3 separate regions of the Homo sapiens genome follow, and regions 1 and 2 are each linked to region 3. The links are contacts of gene promoters, found by promoter capture Hi-C in human tissues and cell types (Jung and others, 2019). All regions are on one chromosome and are shown on one strand. The core of a region is centred on a gene start or on the middle of the fragment in contact, and the rest is flanking DNA. Distances in the headings are between cores, read along the strand shown. Region 1 has its middle 220 kb from the start of LINC01718. Region 2 has its middle 130 kb from the start of LINC01718. Region 3 holds the start of CDH4 (cadherin 4).

Region 1 (4,470 bases), core at 834-3,333, 390 kb before region 3:
TGTGTATGTATGTGTGTTCTTTTCTGTGTTCAATTATCTGAGTGGCGCTCATGATTGTAAAAATATTATTAAAAAATAAACTGCTGTGATAAAAATGTTGATAGCTATTTATTTATCTTTTTAAATATATATGCACATAAATCTCAAGATAGGAAATGAAAATATTTGTGCTAATGTAATTTCTTAAAATCAGGTATAGAGATTTAATATTGCTTTTTAACTTGTATTTTTAATTAAAAATAAAAATAGATTATATGCATTTTCTTCCCTCTTAAAAAAAGCCTTCCTAGAAGTTCTGATTACGCATAAACACTGTCTGCGTGTACATGTGAAGCGCAGATAATTTTATTTGAATTAATGTGGTTAGGCAGCTTCTTCCATGCACAGCTATCACACCACAGTGAAGCATCCAGGGCATCAACAGCACAAATCAGTGAAATGAAAAAAAATATTATTGTACTGTTTACCAACAGATCTATAATTACAAAATAAATTAACCGTGAAATGAAACACTTTGGGTTTTCTGCAATATTGTTGTGAGAGACTGGGTGATTCTTTTTTTCAAATTAATTCTGAGAAAGCTTGAATGTGAAATATTGCAAAGAGTATTATGTTTTTTTATTCTTATTTTTTATCTTTTTTTTTTTTAAATATCAGCACATATCAGTGTGACTCAGGGACACACTTTCATTTTCAAAGTCAAAGCTGCAAGCTAGGTGGTCACTTTGAAGAAGAGGCTGGGACATGAAAAAGAGAAAAAGTTCCACCAATGGAAAGCCCCCATCATCTGCAGGTGACAGGCCTAGATTGGAAGAATGACATTTTCTTTATTCTCCTGTGAAGCCAGAACTCTGAGATCTCACCTCAGGTCCAGGGAAACAAGAGGAAGAAAGACTGATCTGCCCCCTTCCAAACAGAGGATTCTAGTGTCCAGTTGACTGACATCAAGATGGCCTTGCAGGGGCAGGTGCTGAAGCCATCTCCATAAACTATAAAATTAATCAGGGCAGAAGGGAGGGGGGAAATTAACACAAACGAAGCTTGTAGCACACTCAGCATTCGTTATTAGGACAGCTCACTCTCTGACCACTGCCCCATCGTCGTTTGCTACCTGTTGCCCCAGAATCACAGAGATCCTGCTCTGTAGATAACAACGTAAGCATGGTGAAATGTTCCATTTTCCATTTGAGGTCTTCTTTCATTTCCTGCATCAGTGAAATGACTGATGTCAGCTGGCCTGAAGGGCCCCACAGGAATCTGACTCATGGAAGAATGAATGCAGTTTCCACATCCTGATGATTTCATACCCTGGACTCCAACCAATCAATGGTCCCAATTTTCCTGCCTCTCACCCTCCATGATTCCCTGAAAACTTTCAGCCTAAAGCCCCTCGGGGGGACAGACTTGAGGTTCCCTCCTGTCTCCTCCCTCGGCTGTCATGTGATCATTAATCTCTTTCTTTGCTGTAAACCTTGCTGCCTTGGTGGATTGGTCTGTTAGTTCACAGGAGGCCCAGGAACCTGGAGGTCCTGTAACCGTGCCTTTGGTGAGTTTATATGACACAGAGTGAACATACTTACTGGAGCATTCTATGCAAGTATGTTCCAGGACCACTCCCTCCCAAATCCGTCCTCTTTAGAGGTGTGGCAGTGGACACAATCTATCCTAGCAAGAAACTCAGAGTGATTATGATGTAAATGTCCGCATGAAAAGATGTAAACTAGTTCAACCCTTGTGGAAGTCAGTGTGGCGATTCCTCAGGGATCTAGAACTAGAAATACCATTTGACCCAGCCATCCCATTACTGGCTATATACCCAAAGGACTATAAATCATGCTGCTATAAAGACACATGCACACATATGTTTATTGCAGCATTATTCACAATAGCAAAGACTTGGAACCAACCCAAATGTCCAACAATGATAGACTGGATTAAGAAAATGTGGCACATATACACCATGGAATACTATGCAGCCATAAAAAATGATGAGTTCACGTCTTTGGAGGGACATGGATGAAACTGCAAATCATCCTTCTCAGTAAACTATCGCAAGGACAAAAAACCAAACACCGCATATTCTCACTCATAGGTGGGAATTGAACAATGAGAACACATGGACACAGGAAGGGGAACATCACACTCTGGGGACTGTTGTGGAGTGAGGGGAGGGGGGAGTGATAGCTTTAGGATATATAACTAATGCTAAATGACGAGTTAATGGGTGCAGCACACCAGCATGGCACATGTATACATATGTAACTAACCTGCACATTGTGCACATGTACGCTAAAACTTAAAGTATAATAATAATAAAATAAAATAAAATAAAAAAAGAAAAGATGTGGCTCCAGGTTTCTTTGCTTCTAAGAAGAAAGTACATAAAAACAAACTCTCTTGGGGGAAAAAAATGCCCAACTTCCTCTCTGAAAGCTCACAGTGCATGTCACACAATTCATCACTTTATTCAGTCAGCTGTGTGCCTTTTTCTCCTCTTTTTCTACTTAGGTTTTACTTTTTATTTGGTGTTAAGCTTTTAACTTTATGAGGTGTACATTTTCTGTTATAAGCAGAATGTGTGTGGACCTCTATTGTACCACTATCAGGAAGAAATTGACCAGGAATGACATGTCTGAGTTCAGACAAGGAGGCTGCTCTTATTTACCAAATGGCCAGCAACCCTGCAGCTAGGGCATCCCTCCAAGGGAGTCATGCCCCTTCCAAAAAGGTCGCGAAGGAGCTCGCCATGAACACAAAGGTAACAGCAACATCGTCGTCAGAGCAGTTTCGGAAGTGCTCATACCCACCAAGGGCTGGGCTAGTAATTTCCCCTGCATTGCCTTATGTTATTCTCCCTAAAGCTCAGAGAAGGAGGCATTATCCAGCACCAGCCCTCTTACCTGACTCTATAGGAAACAGTTGCCAGTAGCTTAGTTGAAAAATCAGTCAAGATGAGAAATCATGAAGTTACGCATATAATCTAAATATTTCAAACGTGAAAATGCACATATTTTCCAATATTTTGAAATGATCCCAAAGTCTTACCTTAAGTACCGCACCTCTGATTACAGTTCTTGAGTGTGTTTTTTCATCCTCCTGTCACCAATCATAATGCATTGTCACTATGTCACAGTTCCAGTGTCTTTATACACAAGCAATAACTTGAAGCCATATGGGAATGACCTAGAGCAGGGGCCTCCAACCTTTTTTGGAGCCAGGAAGCAGTTTCGTGGAAGACCATTTTTTCCATGGACCAGGGAGGGGGGTGGTTTCGGGATGATTCAAGCACATTACATTTATTGTGCACTTTATTTCTATTATTATTACATTGTAATATATAATGAAATAATAACACAACTCGCCATCATGTAGAGTCAGTGGGAGCTCTGCACTTGTTTTCCTGCAACTAGACAGTCCCATCTGGAGGTGATGGGAGAAGTGCCTCCTGAGTAGCTGGGATTACAGGTGCCCACCAAGACTGCCCGGCTAATTTTTGTATTTTTAGTAGAGATGGAGTTTCGCCATGTTGGCCAGGCTGGTCTTGAACTCCTCAACTTGTGATCCACCTGCCTCAGCCTCCCAAAGTGCTGGGATTACAGGCATGAGCCTCATCGCCTGGCCATGGATTACATTTTAACGTGAGATTTGGGTGGGGTCAAATACCCAAACTCTGTCACTGTCCTTAATGGTGTGTCCTCCACTCACAGCTTTTGCTTCCACACCTGACTTGACAGCACTTACTCTTTGGTGATTCACTTTCTGAAATGTTTAACTGAGCTTTCACAAAAGGAACTCTCTTTTTGCATTCCCATTTCATTGGTTTATACAGTATTTAGTCAAATTACATAATTATGATGTGATATACAATTAAATAAATTGATTTAGGAAGAAACACAACTGAATGTCATTAAGGAGATCAGACACTGTTGCCGGAGGAATCAGCCTGGGAAATGGTGCGTGGGCTGCAGGCTACAGACGCTCAGGGTGCAGGGGTCTCCATCACATAGTGACAGAGAGAAAGGAGGGGGGGTGCTCATGGGAAATCAGTTACAGGAGAAACAGTCTCAACTGCACCTCTGTTTACTATGAGCATTAGTGAGGCTGAAGCCCAAAGACCCCAAAGCCCACCAGCCCCTCCTCTAGGCTCTCTGCATGCTGGCCATGGAACACCTTGCATCCTCAGGGTACCTGAAGCATCTCTCCACCTGCAGAGTCAGTTCCTGAGGCCCCGTGGTGCTCTCATTCTAGGACAGCATCAAGCACGTTCTTGGGCAGTAAGAGATTTTGAGTAAAAAATGGCCATCTTGCCGTTTGTTGCCTCAGCTCTGACCTTTTGCTATGAGCTGAACTATGTCTCCTCCAAATTCATATGTTGAGGTCTTAAACCCCATTGCCTCAGAACGTGACTGCATTGGAGACAGCCTTGAAAGAAATGATTAGGTCTAAAGGAGGCCTTTAGGGTGGGCCCTA
Region 2 (4,732 bases), core at 298-2,797, 310 kb before region 3:
TTATGTACCAGGAGTATTTGCCAAGCTGACCCCAGTGATCCCAGTCTTTTGCCAAAACAGGTGCAGACCATAGAAAGTATAGAACCTGGTCAAACCAAAAGCAGCCCCTATTCACAATACAGTGCCCCTCTATCGTGGGACTCTCCTTTGCTTGGCTTTCTAACTTCAGCTCCCACTACTGACATCATCACACTGCTCTCAGTCTCGGCCTCTGCTCTGAAGAGCATGGTCTCCCCTGCTCCACACTGCACAACCCATCATCTTTCAGACATCTCTTTCTCAGCTTGGGTTCTCTTTCACTGTCTTCTCTACTAGTCGTATTTCTATTCATCTTTCTGCGTCCAACTCAAACCCTTCTTCTCCCAAGTAGAACCTTGTAACCTCTGTAAACTTGCATCCTATCAAACTTCTTAGTGCCCATTTTCAATAGTAAGTGTCAACGTTTGTTTTTAATTCTCTCTCTCTCTCTCTCTTTTTTTTTTTTCTTTTGAGATGAAGTCTTGCTCTGTTGCCCAGGCTGGAGTGCAGTGGCGTGATCTTGGCTCACTGCAACATTGGCCTCCCAGGTTCAAGCAATTCTTCTGCCTCAGCCTCCTGAGTAGCTGGGATTACAGGCACACCCCACCATGCCTGGCTAATTTTTGTATTTTTAGTAGAAACGGGGTTTCACTATGTTGGTCAGGCTGGTCTCCAACTCCTGACCTCAAGTGATCCACTCACCTTAACCTCCCAAAGTGCTGGGATTATAGGCATGAGCCACCGTGCCTGGCCTAATTCTCTCTTTCAATACATAGATTTTGGTTTCCCAAAACCAGTGAGCATGGACTGCATTTTATATGTATTCAACAAGTGTTTATTAAGTAACTAACATCAGTTGTTCATTATTTGTAACTTAAATAATATGAAGTCAATTGGCATGATTAAAGCTCTATGGTCTTCTGCAAAACAGCAATGATCAGTTACCAATTGCTTTCTTTAAGTATAGCGTGGAGAATGGAGTTGAAAGTGACCAGCATTGTGGCCTTTGTTCTGGGGGGTGCCTGCCATACTGATGGCAGCTGCTGCTCCAGACAGCCTGTCACTGCCATCACGTTGGCTGCAGCAGGGAGGCATTGCCTGGGCTGCACGCCCCATGGAGCCAGCGGGAGCCCCATCCCTTCTGAGTTGGGGTGGGAGCTCCCTGGGTGCCGCTGCAGCTGCCCAAACTGCCTGCAGACCCAGGCCACTGCCCCATTGGCCTGGGAAGGCCCCCTGCCCTTGCAGGCTCAGAAGTGCCTGCTCCCACTGCCTGGCTGCTTTCTGCTGTTGGTGTCTGCTCCAATCTCAGAAAAGTTGGGGCAAAACCTGGGCATCATGAATGGCAGCAGAAGGCAGATAGGTTCCTGGGCAGAAGGGGATGGGTCCCTGGTAAAGCCAATCCCATGGACTGGAATGAAGACTTGTGGTGCCTTTTCTGTGTCCTCCCATGGCTGCCCATGAGCCGGCTGGCACACACTTTCTCCCCTCTGTGGTCCATAGAAGCCCTGGGCTTTACCAGAGCAGGCAGAGAATGGAGAGATGACAGGATGACCAGCAGCAGACAGGAGTGGGAAGACCACTGCAGATGATGGCTGCAGAGATGATGGGGACAACCTGATGGTGGAGAAGAGCCACCCTCTCCAGAGTCTCTGCTGCGAGCTGAACACTTGATGGGATGACCTGCATACAAAGAGGAGCTACCCATTGTAAGTCTCCCCTGAGCTGTTCTAACACTCAATAAGCTTCTCTGTCTTGCTCACCCTCCACTTGTCTGCATACCTCATTCTTCCTGAACGCAGGACAAGAACTCGGGAAAAGGTGCCACTGGCCACAGAGATTTCTGCCCAGAAAAGCGACACCCCAACGATCCTGTAACAATACCAATGCTATTATCCCAAAATAAGCTGGACATATTCCTCAGTGTGGAATTTTGGAGAAGGCGGTAGACGCAGCATTGCAAGGTCATGTTTCTACCTGTACTCTGATCTGTTTTATTGGCTTTGTAATTTTTCTCATACTGTCTATTTTCCTCTCAATAAAACCTTAGAATGCTCTTCAATATGTAAGATAAATAAAAGCCAGAAAAACAAAAGTTTGAGTGGTCACTTCACCAAAGAATATGTACAATTGAAAAATAAACATATGAAAAGATACTCAACATCATTAGTCACTAGGAAAACGCAAATTAAAATCACAATAAGATACCACTACAACTATTAGAATGGTTAAATTTAAAAGAAAATCCCACTGTAACACCAAATGCTGGGGAGAATGAGGGGCAGTAGGAGCCCTCACTCCTTGCTGATGGGATGAGTGACATATCATGACACAGCCACTCTGGAAGATAGTTAAGAGTTCCTTATAAAGTTAAACTTACCGTAACTCAGGACCACATTCCTAAGACTTTATTGGAGTAAAACTAAAAAACCCCTGTTCACACAAGAGGCTGCATGTAAATGTTTGTGGCAGCTTTATTAAACATCTCCAAAAACTGGAGACAATACCAATGTCTCTTAATTGGGGAACTGAAAGACAAATGGTGGCCCAAAATAGAGGTCAGAAATAAAAGGAAAGAACTCTTGATTCATCAAGGAAGAATCTCAGGTGAATTACGCTACTTGAAAGAAGCTAGCCCCAAAACACTGCATACTGTATGGTTCAATGTATACGACATACATCTTGGAAAAGGCAAAATGACAGAGACAGAAACTAGATCAGAGATTGCCAGGGGCTGGGTGGGGGATGGAATGTTCTGTATCTTGATTGTGGTGCTAGTTACATGACTGTACACATTCGTCAAGACTCACAGAACTGCATACTGAAAAGGTTGAGTTGAACTGTGTCTAAATTATATCTTAGAAAAAAAAATATATATATATATTTTTTTTTGAGTCTCGCTCTGTAGCGAGGCTGGAGTGAAGTGGCTTGATCTCAGCTCGCTGCAACTTCCACCTCCCAGGTTCAAGCGATTCTCCTGCCTCAGCCTCCCGAGTAGCTGGGACTACAGGTGCACGCCACCACACCCAGCTAATTTTTGTATTTTCAGTAGAGATGGGGTTTCACCATGTTAGCCAGGATGGTCTCAATCTCTTGACCTCGTGATCTGCCTGCCTCAGCTTCCCAAAGTGCTGGGATTACAGGTGCAAGCCACCACGCCCAGCCAAAAAAAATATATTTTTAAAGCTAGCAGGTCTGATTTTAATTAAGATTTGGAAGTCTACCTGCCCAGGCTTCCCAAGGTGCTCCAGTCAGATCCTGGGTCACCACCAAGTCCCACAGAAACCAGTTTGGAGACCTGTAGACTAGCTCCTCACTGAGCCATTTCTGGATCTCCAACTCTCTGTCATCTTTCACCTGGGACCCTCATGGGAGGTGGATGCAGCAGATTCTCTGAAATCCTACTTTTGAACACTGTCGTTTTCATCAGCAAAGCCACTTCCTGGACTGCTCCTATGTCCACCACCCAGACTGTCCAGCCAGGCTGGGCACCTTCCTAGGGCAAGACTGTCTCAGCTTGTCTGCGTGGACTGTCAGCCTCCAGTCTAGAGGGAGGGAAGTACAGGGCTGGGCCTCCTGCCTCTTTTCCTATGGAGGGTGGGGATGGCATTGCACGCACATCAACCTGATGCTACAGGGCTTGGCCTCTTGCCTTGTGTCCCGTGGAGGGCGGGGATGGCATTGCACGCACATCACCCTGACGCTGCACTTGCCCCAGAAGTCAGCACTCAGGGATTTTCCTCCACCATGGGGCTGCCTGAAAATGGAAATGAATTCTCAGCACAAAACAAAAAGACAAACTGGTATGATGCCTCAGAGCATGTTCGTTTGGGGTTTTTAGTTGTTTTAAAATTTTCTTTTCATTCTAATAAAGGACAGCTTTGTCTTTAATCCACAGATATGGCTGAATCGCTGTTTTCCAAGCAGCACACAGAAAATTATCCTACCTGAGGAGCGGAGTAGTATCCATGGAGACACAACACCAAGGCCTTCAGGGTCTCATAGGCTGGCAGGCCCAGCAAGGAGCAAGCGCTACGGCTTGTTAGTAAGAGGCGGCTAATGAGAGAGCCTGTTACTGACTCTGGGGTCCCTGAAACACCTTTCACTGGGGCCTCGCTCATTCCTGGGAGGAATGCAGTTGAGTGGTTTGATACCAGGCTTGAGCGGGACTGCAGGATTTGACTCCTAACCCCTCATTTGTGGCTGCAGGATGCTAGACAAGCACTTAACTCCTTTGAGCTCTTCTCTGTAAAAGGCAGACTGTAGCACCTACCCCCTAAATGTATTGAAACGTTTCAACAAATGTGAGCACAGAATCAGTACCCTGCCGGGTCCACACTGAGAAATCAATGACAGCTGTGATTAACTTCATGCCCATGCCCATTGGGTCCATTCAAGCCACCGAGCCCCGTGGTTGAGTTGGGCTACAGGCCGCCCTGTCCCCACCAACACAGCACATCTCGGCGGTCCCAGACAGGCGGGAGGATGGACCCTGAGACAGCACCTTAGGGAAGGCGTGAACGCACGGGAATCTGGCGGGCATCTTTGGTGAGGTTCCACCTTCTCTTGGCAGAGACCTTGGTGGAATCCCGGGACTCCCTCTCCAAGGAAACCCCATCAGAGGGGCCCTGGTGGGTACCCAAAGAGCAGCCTAACTCCAGGGAGAGGCAAAGGACAAGAGAGGCCGAGGAGCCAACCTGACGCCTAGAAATCATTC
Region 3 (4,838 bases), core at 2,331-4,830:
TGAGGATCGCATGGGATCATGACTGAAAACCTTCGACACAGTACCTGCCACACAGTACATAGGGATCCCTGTTCATGGAGAAAGATAGATTTTGAAAAACCTACAACAATAACTCTATTCCTTTCTTTATTCCCAGTGTAGCTTCACCTCAGCGGGTGAGCGTTATTGGAATGGAAGGCAGGGAGCGATCTGTACTGGTCTCTCTGCTGCCTGCTCGCCCCTCTCAATCTCTCCTTTGCTTTTTGCTTTAAGATCGCTCTTCTCTATTGCATGCAGGGAGTTTTCTTGAGCTGGGTAGCAGGCTGATTCCATTCATTTCTACAGTGCCTTGAATATCTTCAATCGCCCACAAAGACAATGTTTTATTCTACGAACACACCTTTTGCCAACATCTCACTGCTTTCTGTACAAAACAGCCTTTTTGTCGAACATTGAAGTGTCTACAATAATAACTATCAATAGGGAAGGAAACAAATTAACATCCAACGAATATAGGGAAATGTGGCCCTGATACAAGCACTTGGTTTTTGCTTCTAAAGAGGAACCCCTTCCCAGACTCACCTCATCGAGAGGGAGACAGAGAAGTCTATCAAGCTTAGCAAACATCTGTAGTCCAATTACTGTCAACAGTTTACAGGTGTTGAGAGCAAACAGTCACTTATACACTACCTCCCAAATGCATTCTCTTAATCTCTCTTAGAAACAAACGCACACATTTTTCTAGGGCTCTTTATCCAAAGTGCAGAGAGACTAGCTCCTCCTCCAGGCCAGCTGTGGTCTTCCCTGCACTGGGTGGACCAAAGGCAGGCCACAGTCCCACTGGCCAATGTGCCAAACACTGTGCCAGGGTTTCTCCAGCTACCCCAGGCAGAGGCCCAGGCTCCACCCCTGGAGGTCCAGGTTCTGGAAATCCAGGGTGGGGCATAGGAGAGAGCATTTTTCTGATGCTTCCAGCTGCTGCTCTGTTACGTGGGACATACTGTCTGTGGGACAGGCCGTGATTCTCAAATGCTAGTGGCATGAGCATGGACTGGAGAGATTGTTACAAGGTCAGCTTCCAGGCCCCACTTGCAAAAGCTCCAAGTCCATGGATTTCAGGTGGAGCCTAGGAACTGGCATTTTTCATGAGTTTCTCTGTGATTTTGTTGCAGATGATTGCAGACCAGAGGTGGGCGTGGCGGGGAATCCCATCAGCATTCAGAATCAATGTAGCAGGTCTGGGGTAAGGCCTGAGTTTCTGCATTTTTAACAAGCTCCTGGGGGATCTTGATGCTGCTGGTCTGGGGACCACACTCAGAGTGACAGGCTGAAGACCATTCTTTGGAGGCACTGCTTTGTATTTTAGGTCATATTTTTCTTTTCTGTCTCAGCAATCTTTGCTGCTGCATTCAGAGTAAGTCTGATAAACCAATGCTCTCTACTGGACTCCTGTCAGTTACTGCAGTGTTTCTGAAACTATGTATTTCGGAAAATGCGAGTTCCCGTAAGACATTACAGCTGTGTAAGAAGGTTTCTTTGAACAAAGTTGGGGCCATGCTGCGTGTGCCAGGGTCCCAGCTCTGGGTGAGAATGCTGGCACTGCAGCTTTCCCCGTGCCTGCCCTCTGCACCCTCCTCTGCCTGACTGTATAGTGGAGTTAGAAGGACTCCAAGAGCAACTTTACATAAAGCTCCTACACATGTCCCTGGCACATAGCTAGCACCTTGTAAGGACAGGCTATTGTCAAACTCTACCCTTTCTGGAAATCACGCTGCAGTAGACTCAAGATTCATTCAGTAGTAGAGGGAGATGTGCTTAACACAGTGTTTGGAGTTCAGGACCCACCTGCTCCTGGACCCCAGTCTCCCTGCCACACACTCATACCTTTTCTTTTTCAAATTGGCGCGCTCCTCAGCGCTTCAACAGTTTCGCAGAGCACGTTGGAGCAAATGCGGGGGTCTGTGATGCCTCTCCAAAGAAATAACTCGCATAATGCTCAGGCCTCCTGCAGACAAAGGTGTATCCCCAGCGACAGATATTTTAAGAAAATAGACCAGGGACACAAGACAAGAGAGCTGTCTTGGTGTCTAAAGCAGTCTTGGACAGCTTCTGATGTCGCTCGAGCAGTGGTGAAGCACCTTGAATAAGGAGGAAAGCAGAGGGGGCGTCTTCCCAAAGGACGGGCACATGGCCGAGGAATGGAATTCTCTGTCCATGAGGATTTTGGATGGATCTGTTCATGAAACCTCACTGGCTACGCAGGACCTTCGAGTGAGTCTAAACCTCCAGCCATGTCAACTGGTAACCTCTCCTTCTTCGGCTAGGTGGGGAGTGGGACAAGGCCATAACTGATAGGAGTCCAGGCTGGGGCAGATTTTGTGTCTCCTGACTAGTTCCATAGTTAAGTTGCAAAACCGAATCTCGCCTTGTGCTCTCGGATGTAGTGCTTACTCTGGTCCTCTGGGGTTATCTAAAATCTGGTTTCCTTAAGCGTAAGGCAGAGCTCTAACCGGGAGACCACCCTGCCCCCAAGGGTGGGGGTTCTGGGAGGGAGAGAGGGAAGCGGCTGCTCTGTAGCTTTCTCTACTGGCTTGCCCAAGTGGACTCTGATCTTGGAGCTCAACAGTGTCACTCAATCTTCCACCCTCTCCTTTGCAACCTATTTCTTAAACCAGAACTAATGTATTCTGGACACAGAGTCCCTGAAACCCCAGACAAAGAAAATTCGATGTATCTGAACAAACAAAACCGCGTTTCTTTAAATCTCCAAGCCAAAAGGAAAAGTGCAGAAACATTTACTCACTGTCCGACCTGTACATATATTTTACCTGATAACCCTTAAAGAAGTGCCCCCCAGTTCAGCCATCACCCATGCAGGGCAAAGGGAGCTGGAGCTGGCCCAGCCTGTCGGCGCAGACACTCCTGACAGCTCCTGTCTGGGCACTTCTTTCTTTCTTGGAGCTTCTAATTTCTTTCTTGGCTTCTGAGGCCTAACAGGGTGTTTTGATGCACACACAGGAATTACTACCGTCCCCAATCCTAGGGTACATCCCTAGCCCAGGCCAGGGCTTTGAGTTTTCCTAGGAGCGGGAGGGTCTGCAAAGCCCCACAGGCTGAAATCTCAGCGTGGCCCTCTGCTCATCTGCTCCAGGTGGAAACTCTCACCCCTGAGCTGCCCGACCTGGGTTCAAGCCCGGGTCAGGGGAGTTAGCAAGGAGACACCTGAAAAATAAAAGGACAGAATGGAAGTGCACACTCCCACCGCGGGCCCGGGCGGGAAGTCGGACTAAGACCGCGGCGGGACCGCCCCATCCAGAAAGGGTGCCCCGGGTGTGGGGGCGGAAACCCCAGCGCTGTCTTCAGTCTCCACACCCGCGCCTTTTTCCCCTGGAAAACGAGCGTCCTTGGCCTCTTCGGCCGCAACCGGGCGGCTCCAGACGTCCAGGAGGGCAGAGGCTGGGCTGGTGCGGCGCGGGGGGCGCGGGCGCGGGCTCTGCGCCTTTAAGGCCCGCGTCGGCAGAGCGAGCGCAGGGGCCGGGCGGCGGGGCGGGGCCTCGGCGGGGCGGCCGCGGCTTCACCTGCAGCTCCGAGCGCGCGGAACAGAGGCGCGGGCGGCTGCGAGGCCGGCGGACGCACCGGCCCGAGGGAACGCGCCGCCGGCCGGACTTGGCCTGGCTCCCGGAGCCGGGGCGGCGAGCGCGGCGGGCGCAGCGGGGCTGGAGGCTCCGGGCAGGCGCGGGGGAGCGGCGGCGGCGGCGGCGATCGGAGCGGCGGCGGTGGTCTCGGCGGCGGCGGCGGCGGCGGCGGCAGGGAGCGGGCTCCCGGTGCCGGGCACCGGGCGGGCGGCGGGGAAGATGACCGCGGGCGCCGGCGTGCTCCTTCTGCTGCTCTCGCTCTCCGGCGCGCTCCGGGTAAGTTGCCGCCTCCCGCCCCCGCCGTTCGGAAGCCCCGGGCAGCGGGAGGTCGTCCCCGGATCCCGCGGGGCGCTCACACACCCGGCGGGGCTCTCCCGGGCTCCCCCGCCGCGCTCCCCGCTGCATCCAGCCCGGCGCCCGCGCTCGGCGAAGCTGCCTGCGGTCGGCAGGAGCGGGAAGCCGCCTGGGCAGCGGGGAGCGGCGGAGCAGGGTGGGAGTGGGGCTCGGTGGAGGACCCGGGGAGCTCCGCCTGCACCGGACCCGCCGAGCCTCCCTCGAACGCCCAAAGCCCGTAGCCGCTACCCGGAGCTCGGCTTGCCTGCATGGGGCAGGCTTCCACTGGCGGAGCCGGCGCGCCCTCCATCGCCCGGGAGCCGCGCGCCGCGGGAGTTGCCGAGCCCAGCCCCGGCCGTGGCTGAAGGCGTGGGGCGCCCGGCGGCTGCGGGCCAGGGATCCGCGAGTGCGGGGCGCCTGCCCGACCTCTCCTGCCCAAGGCCTGGGGGTCCGTCTAGCGGCGCCGCTCAGTTCTGTGGGTGCCGGCAGGACCCGCGCTGCGGGTGGGCGGCGGGGTAGGACTGCGGGGCACTCTCACCCCCGAGCCCTCGGCGGGGCTGGAGCCTGCGTGTCCGGCGGGGCCCCGGGGGCTGGGAGCTGGGCCGGGCTTGGGCCGGGAAGCCGGACGCCGGGCGGGCGCGGCGCGGGAGGGCGCCCCGGGAGGGCGAGCGGGTCTCCCGCTGCCTCTGCAGAGCCCCGCGGGCCGGATTGCCAGCTTTGCTCTGCGCCTGGCGAGGTGCGCGGCCCGCGGGGGCAGAGAGCGCGGCGGCTCCGGGGGCGCCCCTGGGCGGAGGCGGAGGGGCGGCGGGAGTTGCAGGAACCCCCTCTCGTGGCCGATCGGCCTCGCTGCCTTCTCCCGGGCAGCGCTGTTGTAACCTCGGAAATAAACAA

Evidence for each region. The method cuts DNA at HindIII sites, captures the fragments that hold promoters and counts their contacts. A contact is called where the count stands out against the background at its distance.
Region 1: a contact is called between a fragment that was not itself captured here and the fragment with the promoter of CDH4 in region 3, in 2 of the 25 tissues and cell types used here (H1 embryonic stem cells and dorsolateral prefrontal cortex).
Region 2: a contact is called between a fragment that was not itself captured here and the fragment with the promoter of CDH4 in region 3, in 2 of the 25 tissues and cell types used here (H1 embryonic stem cells and spleen).

The regions. Positions count from the first base shown.
Region 1 is chr20:60,856,648-60,861,117 of GRCh38, forward strand. No RefSeq gene overlaps it. Among named protein-coding and RNA genes, the nearest start is that of LINC01718, 220 kb to the right of the region's middle. The HindIII fragment of the contact is 6,282 bases long and covers 1-4,470 here.
Region 2 is chr20:60,944,393-60,949,124 of GRCh38, forward strand. No RefSeq gene overlaps it. Among named protein-coding and RNA genes, the nearest start is that of LINC01718, 130 kb to the right of the region's middle. The HindIII fragment of the contact is 6,910 bases long and covers 1-4,732 here.
Region 3 is chr20:61,248,681-61,253,518 of GRCh38, forward strand. CDH4 (cadherin 4) reads left to right here and starts at 3,581. Exons shown (of 16, transcript NM_001794.5): 1 at 3,581-3,890. The coding sequence starts at 3,834. The HindIII fragment of the contact is 10,940 bases long and covers 1-4,838 here.